Linked DNA regions of Homo sapiens: regions 1, 2 and 3 are each linked to region 4. The links are contacts of gene promoters, found by promoter capture Hi-C in human tissues and cell types (Jung and others, 2019). All regions are on one chromosome and are shown on one strand. The core of a region is centred on a gene start or on the middle of the fragment in contact, and the rest is flanking DNA. Distances in the headings are between cores, read along the strand shown.

Region 1 (4,707 bases), core at 1,374-3,873, 120 kb before region 4:
TTCTCATCTCCCTACCTCATTGTATTATGCCACATTGCAGAGTGTGAGTATCTCTCTCCCATGCGCAACCCTGAGTGCCTGCTGGCCTGTCCCCAGGTTGCCTTCCCCAATCTTCCAAGATTATTCAGAGCTCAAATCCCTTAGATCTAAGCCCAGGTCAGCTTTTCTTCACAAGCGAGAGAGCATCCACTCGCACAGCCCTCTGATTAATTACTCGAGTTCTGCCAAGGGCCTTTTTGTGGATGGATGGGGGAGAGCATGTATCCCTTTAAACATGCTTAATTAAGCTGGGTGAAACACTGGACTCCTTAGCAACGGGCTGGGCCTTGAAGCAAGTCTTGTGGCATATTTGCACAAGATGCTCTGTGTTTGCCCATTTGAAATGGGATCGATCTATCTGGAGGATGCCTCCATGTCTTGTACTAGGACATTCTTCCTTGGCACAGCAATATGGCCCTCCCTAGGACTCTCCTTATAGATGAGCTGTGATTCTACTATTCAGAGAGGTTGGCCGGCTGCCTCCAAGCAAGGGATACAAGATGTACAGGTAATAGTGATGCTATTCAGAAGTGATATTTGACATATTTAATAACAGGGACAGCACAGGCTCTGGCCAGTCAGAACAAGCAACAGCCATAAACCACAGATAGAGCTGTTCTGGTAGGTACTTGCTGAATATCAGCTGTGGAAAAAGTTAGAGTTTACATAGAGCTTCACATATATTTCCCTGTTTGATCATAGCCACAACCCCGTGAGAGAGGTTTGGTACTTTCTTAATTTTAGAGATTTCCCAATTCTGAGGTTCAGAGAGGTCATATGTCTTCCCCACAGCTGCATAGGTCATCAAAGAGCTGGAAGCCAAGCACCCTCCTCCATGTTCTTTCTACTGTACCACGTGGCTTGTGTCGATACAGACCCTTGGGCTGGACCAATCCTGGAAGATCAAGAGCTGACTGGTGAGCCCAGGGCAAAGGTGGTGGGGGTAGGGTGAGAGGTGCAATGCTCTGGGATTTGTAGAAAAGTCAGGGTGGAGCCAGTGCCCCTTTCTGTACCCTCCACTCACATAGCACTATGATCCTATAGGAGGCTCGGGTTAAGAAAGGGCTGCACAGAGTCAACACAGAGAGGAGCATTCTTGGGAAACAAGGACACGGTTGTTTATTTGGGAGGTGATCCCCGGAAGCACAATGATGAAGTAGGCAAGGTTAGACATAGAAGACGAAAAAACAATAAAGTGAATGCTCTGATGAATGAGTTACAGTCATGGGCAACTGGGGTTGATCCCTGGAAGCTTTCTGAAAACCATGTGGCCCTTGCCTCAAAATCGAGCCACTGGAGGGGCAGGGAGCCTGGGGCACTTATTCACTCCCTGCCATACCCACCCCGGGCATTAACTCCCCCGCATGTCACGGTGGTGACTGGCCACTGAGAGCAGGCTCTCAGGCAGGATGCCAGCCAGGCAGAGAGGAGGGACATGCACGGGGGTGAGAGCTGAGATGTCCTCATAGCTGCAGGTAAACTCAGGTGGGCTGGATATGGGATGGAGGCTCCACAGCATGTGTTACACTCATGAATCCGAATGACAGTAGAAAACAGGAGACAGGCGTTCACCATTGTGGGCTCATTTTCTCCAGGCAAGGGAGGAGGCCTCCATGTTTCAGGTATATGCCATGCCCAAGACAATGCTTGATGTTTTAGGAAACTCAGGGAATGTGTCCCTCCATCCTTTTGCTATGAAATGTTAGCATCTGGACTTGCCTCTCCCCCATCCTCTGACTTATTTGGGGAACCTCTGCAGTGGGAGGGAGCTTGCTTTTTGCTCTGGTAGGAAATGCCATATCCTCCCTACCACCAACTGAAATCTCCCCTCCCTTCTATGGCCCCCAACCTCACACCAATCTGCAGCTGGTACCTCTGCCCTGCCAGAGGGTCTGGTGGAGACATCTGACAGATACAGAATGTTTTAATTTTTGAAGCCATTGATCTAGAGCATGTTAACAAATGGCACCTGTTGGTCCAAACGTTGTTTGCCATCCATCTTGTCTTATCTGAGCACTGACTGCATCTAGATGGGAGCTATGTCAGTCCTCAGGGACAGATTGCTGTGCAGGGTTCCACCCCACAGCCAAGAGGAATTATCCCTCCAGCCTAAGAATGACAAGGGCAGTGCCTCTGTGAGTGGCTCAGGGGCCAAGAATGGGAGAAAGTGGGAGGAAATTGCCCGGGAGTGGCTAAGAAAAAAGTATTTTCACCTCCATTCTAAGGGTCAGTCTCTTGGTACATCTCAGTGATACGCTGAAGAGATTGGACTGTCACTGACAAACCTCAGTAGGTAACTTCATTGCTGTAGTAAGTGCTGAGCCAGGGGGTCATCAGCAGGGGGTGGAGTAGCCTTTATCCTGTTGTGTGAACCTGGGCGTATCATTTGTCCTCTCTTTCCTTTCATCACACCATCTATAAGATATGCAGAGAAGTCTCTGCCCTGCTCCATCTCATTAGGCTGCTGAACTGGGTTGTGCAGGACAGCATTAGAACAAGTAGAAGGAACCATGGGAATGCATTTTATTTATGAATCAATGTAAATGAGTCAGAGTGAAGAAAACCTATGCAGGGTGGGCACAGCTGGGCACAATGACTCACCTACAGCCTTGAGGTAGGATTGGTGATGTCAACCCATCTGAATCAAGGCACAGTCTGCCTGCAGAAGGGATGGGGCCTAGGGAGAAACTGGGCTTCAGAGAGGAGGGTTGTTAGCCTGTTCCCAGCTCTGCCTGAGAGATGGGTGTTCTGCTTTGGCGTGAGGACAATTTCTAGATCTTGGTAAAAATAATCTCACTTCTTAATAGCCCTCTTGCCTTATTCTGACATACCAAGCAAGCCTCAGAAGAATGTTTTGGCCTCCTCAGGACTATAATAAGGTGTCCTGGTACAGTGGGCATTGGTTGGGTTTGCTGCCCAGCATCCACCCCTGCATTGTGGTGCCCATATCCAACTTCCCTCTTTCCCCTACACTCAGCCCTTGTGCTTGGGAGGCACCAACTCTTGGCTTAGGGGTGGAGCATGTGATCTAGGCCTCAGGCAATCAGAATGTAACACTCCTCTGCTGGTCGCAAGGCTTGGCTCAGAGTTGGCTATGTGACCTCATTAGGGCCAAGGAGATGCCATGAGATGCATGCTGAGGCTTCCAGAGGAGACTCTTCCACTCCTGCCAGCTAGACTTGAAGCTGGGAAGATGGGATCCTGGAGGCAGGAAGCCATCTATCCACCATGTGGAGCCTAAATCAACAAGGTAGAACCCAGAGAAGGAAGAAATTGAGTCCTGATGATACCATTTGATGCCTGAATCCAGCTGTACCTGAAACTAGATTTATTCCCTGGAACTTTCAGTTTTGAAAGCTGATAAATTCCTTTTGCACTTAAGTCATTTTTGAATTAGAATTCCTGTCTCTGGCAACTGAAAAAATCTCAACTGAAATGCCTGGACAAGAGACAGAGCACTGCAGTCACCTTTACCAATCATTAGGCTGGCATTCCCACTTTACAATGTGACTTTTGAACCTGGTTATGTGAGTTTGCTGCTGAAAAATGACTTTGGGGTGCACTGCAAAATTTCACTTGCTAAACTCAGATGGCTGAGAACCTGGCTGGGGTACAACCCACCCATGAAAGACACTTCTTGAGAACTTGGTTGGGGTATAACCCATCTATGAAAGTCCCTTCCCGAGTGGCCATTTCTGGCACTGAGTGACATCTCTGTGGTCACTGTGGTTGGTACCTTATTTGTGTCTTCTAATCACCAATGTGTCCCTGTGAACCCCCATCCTTCATGACAGGGCTGGGGAAGACAGCAAGTACTAGCTCACATATCACTCATCCCTTTATTCATTCAGGCATTCTTTATTTATCAAATAAGTGAACAAGGAAATGGTAATAAATCCAGTTCGTTGACTGAGGTGGGAGTAATATTCGAAATACTGCATTTTACAACCAGTGTGGTCTACCACAGAAGCTGTAGTACCTGAACATTTCCATGTGAGGGCGCCTCCGGGGGATGCTGGCCTGCACCAGGGACCTTAGCCCAGCCCAGCATACACCTACAGGGGAGTCAGTGCCAAATGCCATCAGGGAACTGTTTCTCTTCAGGGCTCTGGCCAGGAGACATGTGAGCAAGGAGGTTGGCTGGTGCATGTCTGGGGTCATCGAGTGAGCACAGAAGTATTTCAATGTTTTAACAGCTGGTATGGCTTTACTGGTGAGTACTGGCTGCACATCAGGCCTGAACGAAGACCAGGTTTTAAAGGGCTTTGCATGCCAAGTTGAGAAAGTTTTATTCCATCTTGAAGACAATGGGGAGTCACTGGGGTATTAAGGAGATTGGCCTGACCAGATCTATGAGATAGGTGCCTACTTCTAGTGACAGCACAGGAGATGTCTGGATGAGGGACAAGAGACAGGTAATCTGGAAAGGAGGCTGGCAACAGTGAGGCAGCTAAGGGTGGGGTCCATGTTGGAACAGTCTTTTCCTTTTAGGGACCACTGAACCAGATGCTTGGAAGGCCATGGTATTGAGATGATGTGTGTGGTCTAGTTGAGTTTCTGTAAAACTTTCGTAAACTTGATACTTTCTCTGACGATGTGGGTTAGGAGCCAGCTATTTTACGCAGTTCATTTACTATTGTATTTAGGAAGTTCCTGAACACTCCCAGG
Region 2 (4,628 bases), core at 1,596-4,095, 92 kb before region 4:
TTCAGCCTCCAGAGTAGCTGGGACTATAGGCATGTGCCACCATGCCCGACTAATTTTTGCATTTTTAGTAGAGACGGGGTTTTGCCATGTTGGGCAGGGTGGTCTTGAACTCCTGACCTCAGGTGATCCGCCTGCCTCAGCCTCCCAAAGTGCTGGGATTACAGGTGTGAGCCACTGCAGCTGGCAAAGGTTCTTTTGATTGCAAATTACAGAAACTCCACCTAAAACCTGCTTAAGTATGCATTTGTCTGCACTAGACATTTACTATTTTCATAATCAGGAAAACATGACTTAAAAGGGGTTCATATAGCATTCACCACATTGTTTCTTATATTATAATCAGTGAAGACTCTTGTCCCATAGACTGATCTCCTTAAGGGCAGGGACTGTCTTATGTGCCTCCAAAGCCCCTTCCTTGCCTTTTCAATTTGTGCTTAAGGATATATGTAAAGTGGATTGAATTGACGTGTCTCGTAAGGGAGGCTTTTTGCAGTCCCAATTCTTCCAGAAGCAGATGATAATAAGAAAGTAGTTTACACTTGAGCCAATACATGATTTTTCAGGACAAGCCATGTAACCTCAAATGGATGTAATAATCCCAGGTTATTGTGAAGCTCAAATGAGTTAGAGCCCCTTGTGAGCTGTAAAACTCTGTACACCTGGTAGTTTGTAATGACTTGGGTTTATAGAGCCTTCTCATTTCCGAAGCCTCTATCCAAGGTGAGTCATGTCTATTTCTAAATTTTCTAAGAACCATCATTCTCTCTTGATGAAAAGAAATGGTGCAAGGGAGCAAGAAGCTGGGAACATCAATTTAGGACACGATTATTAATCGCCTGCCTTGTGCACACTCCAGACCCACATATCCTACTGTCAGATTCTTCTGACATTTCATCTGGACATCTCAAAGCGCTCCCAAACTCAATAGGTTTAAGACAATGAGTTCAGCCTCTTGCCTTCCAAACTGGTTCTCTTGAAGTGTTCTCTAGACCAGTGAATGTGCCTCTTTCTGTCCTCTACTCTTCTGTCTTGCTCAGGTTCCATATTCAAGCTCCTGCTATGATCTATCTACTCTACCTCCTAAATGCCTCTGAAATTTATTCTTCTCTCCATCTTCACTGCCATGAGCCTAGTCCAAGCTACCATCATTCCTACCTGCTATCTGGTCTACCCATGGATTGGGTTTGCCTTCATCCTATCAAATCTATTTAGCCATCAAATACAACTGATCCTGTCATCTGCCTGCTTACAACTTTTCAGTGGCTTCCCTCACTCGGAAGAGAAGGACTCTATATTTAACAAAGCATATAGAGGCCCTGCATGGGACAGTACCAGCCACCTTCCACCCCCATCTTTCCCATAGTGCCCCTTCACTCCTCTGGCTCCCCACAATGAGCTTTCCTACAGGTCCTCTCACTGCCACTCCATGGACTATTTATGCAGAATGGAAGGACATGCCTCTATCCTCCAGTCGTGCCTTCTCATGTGCACGTCAGCTTAAGTGTCATTTCCTCGGAATCCACCTCTCACTTCCCTGACTAGTTTAATCTGCCTTTTATACTCTGTCAGGATTCTGTGTGTCCCCCCCTTTTTTTGTGATGGGGTCTTGCTCTGTCACCAAGGCTGGAGTGCAGTGGTGCAATCTCAGGTCACTGCAGCCTCCGCCTCCCGGGTTCAAGCAATTCTCCCACCTCAGCCTCCTGAGTAGCTGAGATTACAGGCACATACCACCATGCCCAGCTAATTTTTGCATTTTTAGTCGAGGCAGGGTTTCACCATGTGGCCAGGCTGGTCTCGAACTCCTGACCTCAGGTGATCCACCCATCTTGGCCTCCGTATGTCCCTTTCTTAGTACTTTGTACAGTTGCACTTTTACATTATTTAATTATTTGATTAGTATTTGTCTTTTCCACTAGACTCTAAGCTCCATGAGGGCAGTGACTGTGTCTCTCTTCATGCATGGTTGTGTCCCCAACATACAGCACACAGTTAGAAGATGGATGCATATATGTTGAATGAAGGAATGAAAGAATGAACACATGCAGGCATGTCAGGCACTGTGCTAGAAGCTGCGGATACAAAGACAAATCACGTAATGTCTCTGCCTTCAGGGCTCTCATTGCCTAGCAGGAAGGACAGTATAGGTAAATAAATGGTTTCAAGAGATCTGTGGAGCCTCTGCAAAGAACAGTTGAATGCAGATAAAATAAACATAAAGGAAATAAAAACAAGCTCAATCATACCAATGTCAGAAAAACTACCTTGTGCATACACACATAAAAACCCCTGGCTGTATATACATGTATCACAGACAGAAACACTCATTCCACAGCACATTCTGAAATACCCGTAGGGATAACAACAGCACCCTTATGCACATATGCACATGTGCACAAGCCAGCATACCACCCTGCACTCACATGCTTCATGCCTGCCCTCCACACAGACACACACACACACGCACGCACACACACACTCTCACTCAGGGCAAAGCTGATATTGATCTTCTTTTATTTACAGAGGGGTGGGAGTCCCAAGATTTTAAGGATGGGTCGATGTGGGAGCAGAGTCCCAGGGAAGGATTATTCTGCAGCCAGACCAAGTGTTCAGTCCCAAGGGGAAGGGGCCTGGCAAGGCCAACAGGGATTCCAGGCCCAGGTCTAGCAAGGCTGTGGCCCCAGTAGAGATGCATTGTTAATCAGGAACTGCAGTGGATGATCCTCCCTATACTTACCTGGTTCCATGTCTGGAACTCTGCAAGTCAGGGTTACTCTGAAACTCAGAGGCTGAGTTTAGGGTAAGAAGAATTGGTCCAAATCCTCACGCGCTGGGAGGAAGGCAGCCAAGCATGGTCATGCCATTCCCTTCCTCCCTTCCTCCCTTCCTTTGGTTTACCTGCTCTCCTCTAGGTGCTGGAGTGGGTGCTAGAACACAGGAAGGAAGCAAAATCACTGCTGTCACAGAGCTCAGTCCGGCAGGGCAGATAACCAATTACAGAAGGGCACGGAGGGGGCCCCAGTCTCACCCTGGAGGCTCAGGGACACTTTCAGAGGAGGTATTTTAAGCTGAATCCCAAGGGACTAGAAAGCGTTAGCTGGGTGATCCTGATTGGGTAGATCTGCAGCAGGGGCTCCCAAATTTGCATCTTACAAACACCAGTGACCCCAGCTGCAGATGCAGGTAGGGGTGGATCACATGTTGAGAAACCCTGGAGTGGAGGGGATTAGGACCAGTCAGGGGAGACGGGAGGAGGCTGCATTGGTAACTGGGGTGTGTAGGAGGTGATCTTTTAAATTCTAGACATGTCGGTGGGAAGGAGAGCCACACCGTGTGTCTTCATACAGATTGCAGAAGGGGACACTCTCCCAGAGGGCAGGTCCGAGGACCAGAGACTCAGGCTCTGAGCTGAGCTTTGTCCATGAGGGGGTGGACACCCTGTGAAGGATTAACCTTCATATTTGTATATTTCCCCTTGAACTACGAGGAAGCTTTATAAAGCAAGCATGAATGGAAAACCTGGCCTGCTCCCACATCTGTGATTTGCCTTTGCTACCACTAACATGTCAGGGAGGTCTGGTCTACCTGACAGCCTTGTGTGGTGGAGGCATGGAGAATTAAAGTGAGGCAGCTGGCCTATTCTAGCCTCAGCTGGTGGATGAGGCAGCATCCTGGAGAGAGCTGAGGGAAGATCGGGGGCAGATGTGAGACAGATCCCCTCACTGCCAAGAGATACCAGGTGAAGGGAAGTGACCATGTTCTAAGTATATGCCTTTCTGTCTCTCACTCATCATAGCCAGTCATTCACCATGCTTGATAATTTATCTCCTCACCTTCCTTTACTATTACTTTAAGTCAGACCTAAGTCGTCTTTCTAACTGACATGTCATTCTCTTATCCTTTTCAGTTCAGAAAACTCCTATTCACCCATAAAAGCCCAGGTTATAATGACCACCCCTTCTCTGTGGCATTCTTGGACTATCCCAGCCCAGATTTCTCTCTCTCTCTCTCTGTCACTCACTCACTCACACACATACACGCACTCACACACACACAGAACATACCTATATTCTATATGAAAAACAACACTGGTCCTCGAGTCTGAAGACCTAGATACAAATTTGAATTATTTCACTTTCACTTAGTAGCTCTGAGAACTTGGGTAAGTTATTGATCTCATCTGAACCTCTTCCTTTCCTCATCTATAAAATGGGTAGTTAATATTTACCTCATGAGCTATATTGTAAGACTTGATAAACGTCAAAGCATGTAGAATATAAATGCACATCACAGACATTCAATTATGGAATTTCTTTTACTTCTCATCACATTGTACACTGAGGAGCTACCATTTTCCTAAGACATCCTTTCAGATAGTAAGCACCTTACAAGAGACACCCAGACTTCTGCTCTTTTCCTCTGTGCCCATACCCAGGGGTCTACAAAAGAACCAGTTGAATAAACAACTATGCAATTGCTGTGACCCCTGGAAAGAAGGTAAACACCTTTGTGAGTTTGGCCCATCCGGTGGATTTTGGTTGGAATCTTTGTGTGCAGCATCCCTGGTTGGCCAATTGGCCAAAGTTTCAAGTACAGGAAAGAGGAGTTTCTGCTCTTCCTCACGTGCTCAT
Region 3 (4,799 bases), core at 252-2,751, 110 kb after region 4:
TGTCATTTCAAAGATGAGAAAAGAACACTTACAAAAACAAACTTGTGAGAAGAAATATTATTCAGTTAACTAGCCCACATCTGATTCTTTAAATGTAGTGTACAGTGCAGAAGGATAAATACGAGCCAGGGCCCCAGCGAGGTTGAGGTCTGCTTACACGTCCCCTGGGAGCCCTAGCTGTTGTGGCCCCAGGGCTGAGCGTGCCATCACTCCCAGCAGCTGTCGGCTCACTGGACGTCTTTTCATTACTGTCCTAAGTCGTAAATCTCTCACCCCCAGCAGTCACAGCTGTATTTCATCAGGGAGAAGTGGATTTGTCCTTCGAAAAAACTGAACAAACAGGCCCTCCCAACCCCAGGCCCTGGCAGGATAGGGAAAGGCTTTGAATCCACGTCAAAGAAGCCATCAAAGGAAATAGGCCATTTTCAAACAAAATCCATTTCTTGAGCATGACGGTAAAAATATTTATCACATGAAAGATGTGAAACCTTTATGCTGTCTCGACGCTCTGTATTATGAATGCAGTATGTGTCCGGCGGAATGTGTGCAAAAACCGTCATGCTCATGATTTTGAAAGGGGGAAAAATTAGTCCTTTCCATCTGGCAAATTCTTAATTTACCAACCCAGTCTTGCTCTGTGAGCACCTGAAGCAGAGGAAGGAGGCAGTCCCGGCCTGCAGCCAGACAAAATAAGCAAAGGTTTTGGACAAAGAAACTGCACGTCCAAGATGTAGTGAATGGGGTCCCAAGCTTATCTATCTCTGTCAGCCATGGGCTTTGAAAAGCATCCATACTGATAGCTCCTGTACAAGGTCAGGCAAGGCTTCTTCAGTGGGTCCCAGGATTTTCCACAAAGTCTAAACTTTCTTCCATAATCATGAGTTTTTGCTCCACAAATGGATTTTTAAAGTGAACAAAAAAGCCTATGCCCAGAAAGATCTTGAGAGGCCAAGCCAGCCTTCCCGGGAGACTCGAGGTCTCCTAGGCTCAGATCTAAGGAGGACTCTGCTCAGAGGCCCTGCAGCCCTGAAGTTCCTCCTCCACACCATGCCTCAAAGTTGGTGGGCACCCAGAGATGGCACCCTGATGCACAGCCTGTCTTGGTCCCATGAACATCTCCTCTTCAGGAAGGAGGCATGGGCCCAGATCTAATGCCATTTCCTCCTGGTGGGTGGTTCAGAAAGAAGCTCCCTCGTGGGCCCTGGCACACTGAGAAAGACACATTGGCTTGCCCTACTTTTTTCTGAGTACCCACAGAAAAGTGAAAATTAAAGTCCATGAATTTGGCATTGTAAATAAAATGAAATTCATTTATTTGATTAATATGCATCAAGATACAGCAGTGCAGAGAGCAGCATAGCCTAGCGGGGAAGTGCCAACCCTCTGAGTCACACTGCCTGAGTTTGGAGCTTGGCTTCACTACTCACTAGCTGTGTGACCTTGTGCAAGTCACTTAACTTCTCTGTGCCTCCATTTACTAATGTTGAAAATTGGGGATAATCATATTACCTACTTCCTTGTGGGGTTATTGTGAGGACTGAATAAGTTAATAACAGAGCCTTTCACATTCTATGGGCAACATAAACACCGGCTGTTGTTACTATTATTGTTACTGGTCAGGTGCTGGGCTGGGAGCTGGGGATGGAATTACGAGCAGTGGGGAGTTGTTGGGGTGGCTGCTTATTATTTCTTGTCTTCCCCACCAGAGTCAAGTACACAGAGTAACTTAGAACATAAGGCAACTTCTCTATCCTCTCTACGAGGACAGAGAGAATACAGATCCCACTGGTAACCTGGGCGAGGTGCCTTGGGATGCCTGAGGAAGGTCTGTTCCCAGATCCTCAGCCCCATTCCTGCTGAGGTCAGGGGAGGAAGGGATGTCAAGGAGGCCACATTGGCACCGGGAGCTGAATGCCACAGTGGGAGGGTCTGTATTTAGACTGATTTCCCCTGAGACTGGGGAGTTGGGTGGGCAGGGTCATCCATCACACTGTGTAGCCCAGGGCTAGGAAGCAGAGATTCCCACCTTATGGAGCTGTCACTGTGCAGGAAAACACCAAGGATTACTCAAAGCTTGAGTGCTGCTCCTCCAGGCTGCACGGACGGTGTCACGCTGCCCTCTGATCCTGGGGCTCGTGATCCGTATCCATGGCAGCTCAGTAGCCACAGAAGCCAAAGCCACCTGGCCATGAGGTCAGGAAGCACAGCTTAGGAAGGGTCTTGAGAATGGCCTCCGGGAACCAGAGAGGCCTGGAGGTGACAAGCTTCTCTGCTGCTGGGGCTGATCAGGGGTAGAGAAATGGAGTGCCCAGACCACTTCATACACTTGCTTCACCCACCTGTATAAGACATACCACGGTTAGCTCCTGGACCATGGACCTGGGCAAGGTCAGCTGGCTCCATATTAACCTCTTCTCCTCTGCCAGGCCCCAGGAGGATGTGGAATTACTGCACGATATTTATGTAGGGTACTCAGCTATCTCTAGGGGAGGGGCTTGCACTGTCATACTGCTGAGTACTTCTGCCTTCTTCCCTGGCCTCACTGCATGGCTCACCAGTGCTCTGCTCAACATAGGGGGTAGGAAGGTCTCCCAGATGTGGATGTGAGCCAAAGTCAGGGCCCAAAGGAACCACAGGAGGCATCCATCCAGACCAGTGCTTCTCAGCTCTTCTCAATCATAACCTACAAAACTGTATTTTTTGCATTTCACCCATTATACGCAAACAGATATAAGGGAAACGAGGTTACAAAACAATCTTTAGCATGACCATGTGTGATTAACTCTGACACATTCTGTTTTATTCTGTAATATTCTATTAAGAAGGAATGCTGTTCATGACCTAGTAAATTGATTTCATGGCCTGCTGGGTGGGTTGTGACTGCATTTTGCAAAACACTGATGTAGATCAACGGACTGCAACCTTTATAAACCAGTGCCACCTTTACGTGAATATTGAAATCCCTACCCTCCTTTCATGTTACTTGAAATTTGAAAATAAATTAGGTATCACAAATGAAAACAAATAGAAACAATGGCCATTTTGAAATATGATTTTTCAAAGTACATGTGCCACTTGACTTTCCCAAGATTTTGATACGGACACCCAGGAAAGGAGGGATGATCCCCCATTGAAAATAACTTATTTACAACTGAGGTTTCCAAAAGAGTCTGTGGAGCCCCCTTGGGGACAGTGGACCCTGAGAGAGGGGTGAGGGGAGTCTGAGACCCCTCTTTCCTCCTTTGCCAGAATAGCTCTAATTCAGTCTGTTTACCTATTAGGATTTTGCATAAGAAACCCTTTAAAGAAAGGGTCTGTGGCCAAAGAAGGTGCTTTGAACCATGAAAGCTAATGAGTTCATCTGTCTCCTTTCTCAGGGGAAACGATGAGGCCAAGGCATTTTTTCTATCAGAGAGGTTGGAGGACTTGCTAAAGATGACACAGAGAGGTAAAGTTGGGGCAGGAATGAGCGGGAAGCAAGACAGAAGGGAGACCTGGGCAGGGTGTTCCTGAGCTCTTCAAACTGCTTCCAAAAGGCCTGGCAATAGGACACACGCAGATCAATGAAAGGACCCATTACTTGGCTTATGTGCAATTTCTAGAAGGCTCAGAGTAGAAAATCTTCTTACCTACTGGGAGTCAGAAGCCCTGATTAACAGCTACATGTGTCTTTGATTAATAAAAGATGGAAAATGAACTGCTCATCTCTGCACACAGGCAGTATGTGCGGAGGAGAACATCTTCCGAACCTGGGGCCCGGGAGGCAGGAGGCCCTTAATGGGGAGAAGATAGACATCACCGTGTGTGCCCACCGGCTGCATATGCTATGTGTGCCCACGGCAGGCAGGAGGGTTCTGCTGTCTCTCCACACTGACACGCAGAAGCCACACTGAGGATCAGGGCTCATAGCTCTATAGCAACTACTACATCAGGTGCTGCTGCCCCAACCTAGGTCACCCATGGCTCCATGGCCAGAAATCTTCCCAGTGCCACTGGTTCCGCTGCAGCTGCCACCCCTGCCCCTTCACAGAGCCCTTTCTTACCCAGAGCCAGATGAGAGAGGTGATATGGCAGAGGCTTTTCTCCCAGCTTCCAGCAACATCCTCTGAACACAGCACAGGCGCCATGCCAGTCTGATGGCCAGATGCAGGCATTTAAAGGGAACCACTCTGTTTGCCAGAGCAAGCCCAGGTCCCAGCCATAAATGTCCCCAAGGGTTGGAATCAGCCCAGGAGACACGCCCACACGCTCATGCATTGTGCACATTCAGGGCACAGACAGGCACCATGGCTGAGAACACAGTTTAACCCAAGTTCTCAACCCTGGCTACACATTAAGTCAACTGGGAATGAGATAATCACATCAAATTAAGAATGCTCAGGCCCAACCCTGGTTGAGTCAAAATCTCTGGAGGTGGGGTTTGGGGCATCTCTTTTGTAGTATTTCCTTTCATTGTTTTCTCAACTCTCCAGGTGATTCCAATATGCAGCCAAGATTTAGAACCACTGGATTAAGGATAGTGGTTTCCAAACTTCAGTGTGTATACAAGAATCCACCTGGTAAGTTTGTTAAGACTACAGATCACCCCGAGATGTTCCATCCTAAGAGATTCTAGGGAAGAAGGTCTGGGTCAGGATAATTACTAAGAAGTCTTAAGAAATTAGCCCCTCCCTAATCAGCAGAACTTCAGGTCAACTAGAAACATCTCAAATCTCAAATAACAAAGCAAGCCTTCCTGTCTTATCCTCTGAGAAAAATACTGTAATCCTTTTATATATCATAAATGTTGTGCTGGTAAA
Region 4 (4,914 bases), core at 927-3,426:
TATAGGGACAGATGGAGTGTCTGGAAGGTGACCGCTTCCCAATTCCAGCTGATGAGTTCATTCAAAGCAGTACCCCACTAGAGGCTGAGGATGCAGGGAGCAGATCTAGCCCCAAGGGGTGAGAGAGGGAGCTGCAAGGGGCAGGCAGGACATTTGGACTCCTGCACATCGGGCTGCTGTGAGAGTTTGGTTCAAACTCAGAACCAGAGCAGAGGGCAGGAAACCAAGGGTGAAGCTAGCCAGGGTGGTAGAGGAAAGGTCCAGGTTTGAAGATGACATACAGCTCCAGGTTCCTTGGAAAGCCACAGACAGAAGCCCTGTGGCAACTCCACTTACGCAAGAGGGAGCCAGCTGGTGAGGCCAGGGCTGCAGCCAGACTCTTCCAACCCTTGTAAGGGGACACAAAATCTAGAAGGATCTGACCCTCACAGCTTCCCGATGCACAAGGCTGGGAAGGTAAGCTAGTTCAAGTCCAGGCATATCTATGGAACCAAAACCCTATAGAAGCCCCAAACTCAGAGACAGAAGTATTAGCAAGTTCCAAATCAGGGTCCCATTGACACCTGCGCTATCTACTGTAATCACTTCTTTGTTTTGAAATAGGATCTCTGGCCCCCATTACTGTCACTGGTGCTGCCAGAGAATGACAATGAGCTTAAATGTCATAGGGATTTGGGGAGCAATTTTCTTTTTTTTTTTTTTCAGCCTATTATAATTTTTTTTTATGACTGAACTACTATAAATCCACAAGCAACGGTTCAGACACGTTGCTTCTGAAGTGTTTCACCCCTCCCCGCCAGGCGCAAGCTGCATCAAGGAGGGGGTGGACTCCCCCACCTCTGCTCAGGCATCAGGAGACAGATAGGGCCGTTACTGCTGAGCGCCAGTGGCAGCTGGAACAGGCATCCCAAGGGGGTTGGCAGCAGCAATCACTGGTGAGCCTGCCAGAGGTCCAAGGGGTGAAGGAGTTGGCACTGAAGAAATCCCTGACATCACATTGGCGCTGCTGACGGGCGTACTGCCCCCTGGCATGCTAGATGAACCCATTCGAGCCTGGTCCTTCACAACAGTGTAGAAATAGGGGTGCTCCATGGCCTCTCTTGCAGTAAGCCGTGACTGGTGGTCATATCGCAGCAGTTTGTCCAGGAAATCCAAGGCCTCAGGGCTGACAAGGTGCTGATTTTCACTGTGGACAAAGCGTTCCCATCGCTTTCGAGAGTGTCTGCCCAAGATATCATTGAAACGTGGATCTAATTCAATGTTGTATTTGTCAATATAGCCATATAAATCTTCTGTCCCCAGAAACTTGGCTATCCTCACCAACTGATCATAATTGTCACGTCCATGGAAAAATGGCTCCTTCCGAAAGATCATACTTGCCAGCATACAACCCAATCTCCACATATCCAAACTATAATCGTACATCTGATAGTCTACAAGTAGCTCAGGACCTTTGAAGTATCGGGAAGCAACTCGGACATTATATTCTTGGCCAGGATGATAAAACTCAGCCAAACCCCAGTCTATTAGTCGTAGCTTTCTGTGCTCATGATCAATCATGACATTATGGGGCTTGACATCTCTGTGCATAATTCCCATGCTGTGACAATAATCCAGGGCCTTCAGAATCTCATACATGTAAAATCGAATATCATAGTCTGTTAACGTCTGGTACAATTGCTTGAAGTCTGTGTTGTTTACGTGTTCAAAAACCAAGGCGGGGGTTCGTGACACAGGGTCTTTTACAATGTCTGCCAGTGTGATGATGTTGGGACCTCCTCTCAAATTCTCCAAAATCTTTATTTCACGCTTAATTTTCTTCTTTTTTACTGGCTTGAGAATTTTAACAACAACTTTTTCATTATTTGTGATGTTGATGGCTTCAAATACTTCACTGTATTTACCTCGGCCTAATTTTCGAACCAGCTGGTAGTCATCTTGATTTCCCCATTCCACCACATGTGACTCGTAATCCCAGTATTCTCGAGGTCTGTGTGTATTAACATCTGTGTAAACTCTGGCCCTGCTTGGCACGGGTCCCGACATGTCAGACAGGTTGGCGGACAAAGCTGGACTTGATGTTTGGAGATCTGGCAGTCACTGTGTTCAGAAGCAGCTTGGGGGTAAGACCTTGTTTCAGACCTGTTTTCTTCACACTGTGGTGGAAGCGGCAGCGGCTGTGGCCGCTCTCCCTTCTGCTCACACAGACAATATGGCGGCGATGGAGTGGGGAGCAATTTTCTAAAATCCAAATAAAAACCTTCCCATCTCTAATCTGAGAGTCATTTTTATCAGCTAACTGGGCTCATCTATTTACTCAGCATATTCAGAGCCCTTTTTGGGGGTTAAGTCCCTTTCAATTGCTGTGAGGCACCGTCTCCTTGTGGACATGCTTGTGCTATCCAGCTGCTATTCAAAGCACATCTCCTGGACCATGTTTAATTTATACTTTCCTATATGAAGATGAACCACTTACTCACTTAAAGTATTTCTTTTTTTATGTCTCTAATCAGTGGCTGTTTCTTTCCTCTCTCTGAAGCTTAATCGAATCAGAAACAAATCCCACACATATGAATGGCTCATTAGCATGTCCCAGTCAGATTCAAATTGGCCGTCCATACCAGATGCCCCCAAAAGGATAACACTGGCCCAAAGAAGGACTCTTTAAACGAGTGTCCAAAGGGTGTTGCCATGATAAGCCAGGAGGGTTCTTTCTGAAATCCAGGGTAGATACACTCTGTCATTCCCAGCACCATAGAGCCAACTGATGGCAGGTAATGGATGTGTCATTGAGATGGGGTTGGTGGGAGGCAATGTGGCCAAGCCTGGGGAGCAGACATCAGAGGAATGTCTGGTGTCTATGTGTCTGGCTCAAGCATCATCCTCACACTTGGCTCAGTGGGGCCCTTTTATCAAATGATACAAATGAGGCTGAGATGCTGAACATTCTCTCGCTCAGAAATGATATTTGTTCTAAAGAGCTTCCCCTCTTAATCAAATGAAACTCAGATTATAAACACTGGTATGCTACATCTTCTCTTAAAGGATTTGCTCTTTTCATAGACATCAGAATGAATCGTCAGCATGGGCATCATCACTGGTGTCATCTCTGAAAGTCACCGATAGCAAACTCTCATTTAATACAGATTTACAAAAGAGATCAGCATACTGCAATAGAGTAGAACTGAAGGGAACCTAACCAGGACCTCCCTTCATTTCCCAGGTGAGCAAACTAAGGTTCAGGGTCACAGGATAATTTAGAAGCACAGTAAGATATGGATCCAAGAGCCTGCCTTTTGGAAGACAGGAAGTCATTATGGTTCAGAGCATAGCCTCTGGGGCCAAACAGTCTTGGTGTCAAGTCCTACATTTCCCATTTGCTGAACTGGTGACTTTAGGCAATTCACTTCACCTTCCAACACTCAGTTTCCTTGTCTATGAAATGGAGATAAAAGTGATAAATTCCAAAGATAGTTGCTGTGAGAATTAAATGAAGTAATACACAGAGACAGTTTATTTCATCACCTGGAAGAAGTTTAGAGGCCCCTAAGTATCAGCTATAATTATTATCACTATAATATTCCACTGATGATAAGATTCACTATTGCTATACCACAGCTTTTCGGGACAGGGGAAAACACACTACATTCCTCTGAGCTCAAGATTTATATACCCAAGTGCCTACGTCTCACCTTCACTCTCATGTGTCTCAGGCATCTCAACCTTACCATGTCCAAAACGAAGTTCCCGATTTTCTTCCCTGCCTCCCCATCTGTCCCTTAGTCTGCCCCTCATCCATCTAATAGCCGAAGCCTGTAACCTGTAATTCATCTGTAGCAATGTCTTCTTCCTCCCTCTCCACATCCAATACATCGGCAAAAGCAGACAGTTCTACCTCCTAAATATAGCTTGAATTTAATCACTTCTCTCCATCTGCACAGCCAACATCCTGGTCCAAGTCCCTATTATTTTTGTGTGGGCATCTCCATCCAGAGCCTCTTCCCTGGTCTTTCTGCGTTGTCGTGTTGCCCTTCAATCCGTATTGCCCTCCAATCCACTTTTTAAAATTATACATCAGAGCATGTCCCTCCTCTGCTTTAATGCAGTTCAGCAATTATTTACTGAGCACTTACTATGTGCCAGTCTTTGTTGTAGGAGATGGGAATCTTACCACAGAACAAAATATAAAAAATCCCTGACTTTCTGATACTTACACTGTGTTTTTTCTGTTACAGCACTCCCTATGGACTGAATTGTCTCCCCCTTCCTCAAATTCATATGCTGAGGCTGTAACTCCCCATGTGACTATATTGGAGATGGGGCATTTAAGGAGGTGATTAAACATGCACAAAAAATTCTCAGTAGAATGACCATATGTTCTGGTTTGCTGGGGACTATTCTGGTTTATACCTAGTGTTCCACTGTTATTAGTAGCACCCCCTTTCACTCGCAAAAGCTTCTAGTTTGGACAGTAAATTAAAATTTATTTACATATTTATTATTTATTTATATATGCCAAATGTATAAGGTCCAACCTGATTTTAGAAACACTGAAATCCCAAATAAGTATCTGTCTTAAAATCATGGTCTTACTAATCTTTTCCCTCCCCTAGTCCATGATTTCTCTATATTACTACAATCCTAGTGTGGTGAAAATTAAGCAAGTCATCAAGACCCTCACCTCCTGATGTGCAGCATTTGAAGCAGGCCTGAGGAATAAAACAGAGCACCCCACCATTCAGTGCTCCAGAGACCAGAGCCCTGTCTCTTGAACTTTCCCAAACTAGACAGACAGAAAGAGAGAGAGGCAAGACCTAAAGGAGTGAATGGTGTTCCTGGGCCATTTACACCAGGGGTTAACTCTTTATTTTCAGGACTGACTTTGTATACAGGTAGGCTTTGTTTTATAGAAAA

Evidence for each region. The method cuts DNA at HindIII sites, captures the fragments that hold promoters and counts their contacts. A contact is called where the count stands out against the background at its distance.
Region 1: a fragment that was not itself captured here is called in contact with the fragment with the promoter of CSNK2A3 in region 4 in 2 of the 25 tissues and cell types used here (IMR-90 fibroblasts and adrenal gland).
Region 2: a contact is called between a fragment that was not itself captured here and the fragment with the promoter of CSNK2A3 in region 4, in 2 of the 25 tissues and cell types used here (adrenal gland and aorta).
Region 3: a fragment that was not itself captured here is called in contact with the fragment with the promoter of CSNK2A3 in region 4 in 2 of the 25 tissues and cell types used here (aorta and bladder).

What each region holds. Positions count from the first base shown.
Region 1 is chr11:11,227,248-11,231,954 of GRCh38, forward strand. No RefSeq gene overlaps it. Among named protein-coding and RNA genes, the nearest start is that of LINC02752, 110 kb to the left of the region's middle. The HindIII fragment of the contact is 4,347 bases long and covers 451-4,707 here.
Region 2 is chr11:11,258,708-11,263,335 of GRCh38, forward strand. It overlaps LOC124902631 (a long non-coding RNA gene), which reads right to left and starts at 2,923. Exons shown (of 2, transcript XR_007062594.1): 1 at 2,735-2,923. The HindIII fragment of the contact is 7,504 bases long and covers 1-4,628 here.
Region 3 is chr11:11,463,343-11,468,141 of GRCh38, forward strand. All of the region lies in intron 1 of GALNT18 (polypeptide N-acetylgalactosaminyltransferase 18), which reads right to left. Among named protein-coding and RNA genes, the nearest start is that of GALNT18-AS1, 100 kb to the right of the region's middle. The HindIII fragment of the contact is 4,472 bases long and covers 1-3,737 here.
Region 4 is chr11:11,351,074-11,355,987 of GRCh38, forward strand. CSNK2A3 (casein kinase 2 alpha 3) reads right to left here and starts at 2,177. Exons shown (of 1, transcript NM_001256686.2): 1 at 869-2,177. The coding sequence starts at 2,046. The coding sequence ends at 871. All of the region lies in intron 6 of GALNT18 (polypeptide N-acetylgalactosaminyltransferase 18), which reads right to left. The HindIII fragment of the contact is 7,765 bases long and covers 1-3,497 here.